Linked DNA regions of Homo sapiens: region 2 is linked to region 1. The links are contacts of gene promoters, found by promoter capture Hi-C in blood cells and fetal thymus (Javierre and others, 2016). All regions are on one chromosome and are shown on one strand. The core of a region is centred on a gene start or on the middle of the fragment in contact, and the rest is flanking DNA. Distances in the headings are between cores, read along the strand shown. Region 1 holds the start of ELMOD2 (ELMO domain containing 2). Region 2 holds the start of MMAA (metabolism of cobalamin associated A).

The links. The method cuts DNA at HindIII sites, captures the fragments that hold promoters and counts their contacts. A CHiCAGO score of 5 or more calls a contact.
Region 2: a fragment that was not itself captured here is called in contact with the fragment with the promoter of ELMOD2 in region 1 in 1 of 17 cell types (non-activated CD4 T cells); the score reaches 7.5 in non-activated CD4 T cells.

What each region holds. Positions count from the first base shown.
Region 1 is chr4:140,522,865-140,525,542 of GRCh38, forward strand. ELMOD2 (ELMO domain containing 2) reads left to right here and starts at 1,304. Exons shown (of 9, transcript NM_153702.4): 1 at 1,304-1,416; 2 at 2,556-2,678. The coding sequence starts at 2,565. RefSeq lists silencers at 1,006-1,355, 1,546-1,665. The HindIII fragment of the contact is 7,186 bases long and covers 1-2,526 here.
Region 2 is chr4:145,617,922-145,620,599 of GRCh38, forward strand. MMAA (metabolism of cobalamin associated A) reads left to right here and starts at 1,464. Exons shown (of 7, transcript NM_172250.3): 1 at 1,464-1,486. RefSeq lists silencers at 1,293-1,732, 1,763-1,832. The HindIII fragment of the contact is 749 bases long and covers 958-1,706 here.

The sequences.
Region 1 (2,678 bases), core at 54-2,553:
CCAGACTTCATTACCAAGTTCATTGTTGGTATGGGACAGGGATGACGGCTTATGCACCCTGCACATGGCTAGTGTTCTACAATTAGTCCATTTTTTAAACGCTGGTTGAGATGTGGGAAAGTATGTATCACTTGCTTCAATTCAAGGAGTTGGAAGGAATATACATATATACACTTGCATATAATATTTTTGGAATTAGAAACAAGAAAGTAATACTGGTTGCTTCTGAGCAAGGTGACGGAGGTATCAGGAGTTTTGGGTGGATGGGGAAATTTGTTTTCAGTATCAGTTGTCCTTTGTATTTATATTCTACTCTCCCCCTTGCTCTTTCTCCTCCAGCCACCCCGGCCTTCTTGCTCTTCCTCCAACATTTCAAAAACCCTCCCAATTCAAGGTCTTTGCACTTGTCATTCTGGTGCCTGGATCACTCTCCCTCCAGATACTCCCACAGTAAACTCCCTTACTTCGTTCAATGAGGCCAAAATGCCACGTTAATAATGAGACTTCCTTGACCACACTGTATGCAATGACTTCCCCCACAGACTCCCCATTACCCCTTAGCTAACAACCCCTATACCCTTAACATTTAGTAGCATCTGACATATTAAATATTTGGCTGTTTGTTTCGTGTTTGACTGCCTTTTGGAACACTGCCTGTGCTAACAATCAACAAATACTTGTTGAATTAAGAAACTTACTGCTTGAGGTTTTTAAAAAGTAATCACGAAATTACTTTTTCAACAAAAACAACCAGTTAGGGAATAAACATTTGATAAATTAACTTTTAGACCTATAGTATTATAGGATAAAGTCCAAACTTCGTTTCTCAACACATGGACTTTCCTCATCTGCCACGTATTGGCCACAGTCAAGTAGCCGGTTCCCTTTTCTCGTGCATAAAGTGGAGTTATTCATAATTACTTCACAGAATTAAGATTCAATGCAGATGAAAGCGCTTTTGTAACTAAGGCACTATAAGTTACCGTAAGCACAGGGTTTCTTCCGCGCTTGGAGCCTAGGAATAGTACAAGGTGTCAACCCGCGCTAAGGACCTGAGGTTCAAGGAGGGAAAAGTCTCCAGCGCAGCGCTAGGAGGCGCTACTCCGGCGCGGGGCGGGGCTCCTGGCCGCCGTTGCCAGGGAAACCGTCTGGGCGTCCCTAGTATCTGAGCCCTCGCGCCTGGGCCACTCAGCTCGACCTCTCTCCAGCGTTAGCAATAGGTGGAGCGCGGGCCAATCGGAAGAGGCCGGAGGGGCGGGGCGGGCAGTGGCCCTGGGAAGGCGGGTCCGCGGCCTCGCTCCCTGACTTCCGGGTCGCGGTGCTTGAAGGGAGTGTTCCGTCGTTTCCGTTGCCGGCTGTTTGCAGTGGGGAAACCGAGGCAGCTCCTGCTCCCCCTAGTTCTTCCGCTCCTGTGAGGTGGCTGCTGTTTCTTTTCCTCTTGCCCCGGATGCCTCGGTGCGGCTGCACTGAGAGCGCGCGGGCTCGCGAGCCCCGCGGGGTTCTGCGGGAACCCGGGGGCGCCTGGGCCGGCGGGTCTTTGTGCGAGCCCTGCCCTCCCATTCGCGGGCGGCGCGCGAGGGGGGTCGGCGCAGAGACGCCCAGAGCCCTGGGGTGCTCAGGCGCCGCTACGCGTGCATCCCCTCTGCTCGGCAGTTCTGCGCTTTTGTCCTAATGAGCGCGGACTAGATGGCTTGATTTTCAAGATAATGATCAACCCAGCTGTGCTATGCGCTCTTTCTGCACTGACCTGCGGGTACTTCGAACTTCGACAGTCCCTCCTCAGGCCCTAGTCCAGAGGTGACGTGTCTGTGGGAATGTTTAAGGCAGGAAGGAGACGAGCAATTTTGTTTTTAAGTATCTCCCTCTCACTAGTATCTCCCTGACTTTTTCATTTAGAAGCTGAAGAATTTTCTTATGGCATAAGATATAGTTGTATCGAGTGTGTACTTAGCAAAACAAAAACTTGTTAGTATTTCTGCCCTTGACCTATTGAATGGAAAATCAAGAATGAGCTAAGGTGTTATATACTCAGTGTTCAACTTGTATACTTAAGTTTGTAGTGTTTTTATTTGCTGGCATCACCTGACTGGGACAGTTGTAACGAATTATCCACATGGGATAAGAAGAGTGTATTCTATAAAAACAACTCTGATGTTTTGGTATATATTTTAATTGTTGATTAGTTGGAGTCCTCTTGATCTTGAACTGTTGAGCCCCAGTTCTCAAAGAATGGGAAGTTAGGAAACTAAGATATGAAATACAATTATTTAGCAAAAAGTGCAAACCATTCTGTTACTCTTTCAAGCCATTGAATAGTTTGAGTACATTGTTTGAATTTTAGTTTTGAAAAAGTGATTAATTGGCCATTTGATCATCAATTAATAGCGGTATATATTACACCTGCCATTGTTTTTAAATGCCTAATTAAACTGTCAAAACAGACACAATGAAATGATAGATACATAATTTGAGATTTGATCAGTTGTATAAACTTTTTAAATTTTAAAATTCAGTTTAAGGTCATTAAGCTTGTCTTGTATGTTTCCCTCCTCCAGGAAAAAAAAATGTTTATTTCTTTGTGGGAGTTCTTCTATGGGCACTTTTTTCGATTTTGGATGAAATGGCTATTACGACAGATGACTGGGAAGTGTGAATTGCAGCGAATATTTGATACCTAT
Region 2 (2,678 bases), core at 82-2,581, 5.1 Mb after region 1:
AAAGCAGGTAAGGATAAACTCAATTTTAAAATTAACAAACTTCTTCACTTCTAAGGTAGCACAAACTGAGCTTTCATCAAACGTAACCCTTACCGAAACAATTGTTCAGATGAGCAACGCCAAGTTTAAAGAAAGGAAGTAAACCGTCTCAAGAACTGTCAATCTGTTTGTGTTCGATAGGCTGAGATTTGAAAGGTTTGATTCTGTGTTCTTTCTACTAGATCCTCGGCTTCATTTAGACTTGTGCTTAATTTTCTGTCATTGGCTATTGAGTCTACAATCAATCTTTGGAGTAAAAGTGGTAGTCTTTTGGTCCAAATAGTAATAATGAAAATGGTGAGACCAGTAATTCATTTTTTATTATTCTGTATTCAGTAAGAATCAACCTGTATCAAATAGCTGAAAAGGCCTGAAGCCTCCCAAATGCATATCATTACACAAATTCTGTGTGAGGACTGACATCTTGGTTTCATATACTAATTATACTGCATGGGCCCCATTTATAACCATATCTACTCGTCATTTGATCCTGGCTACTGCCGATGGATGCTATCTTCATCACATTATAGCAAACATTTGGGTGATTAAGTTTTTCTCAAAAATTCTAGATTAGCATACAACGGCTTTACTACTTATATGTCATCTAAGACGTTTTTTAAGAATTAGTTACTACTACGCCCAACGCAGTGAGGTAGCAAATATTATGCCTGTTTATTTTCATCTCCATTTCAGGCTTGCGCGCCTTTCCCCCCTCGGGACTTCCCGAGGACACCCCTGCAGCAGTGAGCCCGAGTCCTGGCTTTGGCTGCATGTTAAGAAATATTAATCAAAATGAATGCGTGCCCTTTAAGAGAAAAAAACTGTGGGTCCTTCAGCCTTTAAAAACCATGCCGTGGTTTAAAAACTTAAAACTATATTTCGGCAGAACGCTGAGCATTTCTTCAAATCACTCTGAGAAGCTTGAGTGTCTTTAATTTCACCGGTCTGTCAAACGTAACGCGTCTCTCCCTCACCCCACATTTTAAGTTTCCAAGGAGCGGAAGAAGGGCCTCCGGGGGTCCCGGCCGCCGCAGGCTGCTGGGGGTGAGGACACGACTCGGCCTCCGTCCGACTCGAGGGTGTCGCGAAGGCCAGGAGGGAACGAAAGTTACCCTCGAACTTCGGAGGCGAAAGATTTCATGTGGATCTTAAAAAGGGCAAAACCTACCCCAAAGGCCGTAAACCGCCCTCCCCTCCCCCGCCAGAGAACTTCCCGGCGCAGAGCTTCCGCAGCCTGCTGCAGGCCGGGAGACCTTCACGCTCACTCGCTCTCCGCCACACGCCGGAACTGCGCGGCCACGTCCACGGGGACCCTGGCCATGCCCCGCACCGCCACCCAGCCCCAGGCGATCCCCGGGCCCCACGCGCCTGCAGTCGGCGCTGCGCCTGCGTGGGAGGATCCGGCGGAAGGGGCGGGGTCAGGTGGCACTTCCGTGGCTTCGGGCGGGTGAGTATGGGGAGTGCGCGCGGCGTCCAGGAGTCGGGACTGGGCTCCCGCCTACGGCCGCCCTCCCGCCGGGGGGCCAGCGCGGTCCTCCGGGGCGCCCCCTGGAGGATTTGGGGTGGGGGAAGGAAAAGGAGAGTATTATCGAATATTCTCCTAATATTGATGTTCGGGGTGCGGATATGTGTGGACAGGCAGGAGTCGGCAAATGGGTTCAAATGGAAGCTTTAACAAAGAAAGGCCCTGTACGTAAACAGTGTTTTAAAATTCTCATCTTGGTTAGGTTTCTCAGGTTATCTCTGAGCCACAGCAAGGCAGCTTTGTTAAGGTGGCTCTTCCCTTGTCGCTGCCAAACCCGGTAAATGGTTAACCTGAGGCCGCGTCAGAGAAAGCCACTATGACTCCTACCAAAGAGTGAAATTGAAACTCTTTTCTGGGAAATCAAATCCAGGATATAAAAGTTGGATTCAAACTAAAAGTTACAAACAGTATCTAGGTTCCGTCACATGGCGTGCCGGGCAGGGTCTAAATCTCTTTCAGCAGAGGGCATGCTGTCTTCATATGTATTTCTCATTAGAAAATGAAAGACGACCTAAACCAAAATAATATAAAAATTTTTTATTATCTGTCTTAAGAGTTGTACCCTAATCCATATGTTTAGAAAACATAAACTAATAAAACTTTTCCAACTTGGTAGAAAGCCAAAAGTTTCCAGAAAAACTGTGTGGATTATTCAGCATTTTGCTGTTGTCTACAATGTTCAGAATATTCTTTTACAATAATTTTGCACTAAATACCGGTTTGTGTTCAGGGTAACAAGAGGTTTTTAAAAAGTCAAAGACAAGGACAGGTTTTTTAAGGGCTGTATTCTATTAGGAGAGACAAAACAAGCATGAAAAGTTACATATCCATAAGAAATGTAAATCACCATTTGAGATATTTGAAGATGTCAAAAGAAAACCTTTATTTAGAATGGAAAGAGCTGGTGAATGCTCGAAACATTTACCATTTAGCTGATTGTTGCCATGTGGGAATGGGGGTCTCTCAAACGCAGATCCGATTTTCTCCAACACAGGCCAAAGATCTGTATTTTTACGTATTTTTTCTTGATTTTTAATGTTACTTGCAACCAATTTAGTTAACACACACCTTCTGTGGGTGGGCCAGGTGCAACTAGTTTGTGACCTCTGCAGAT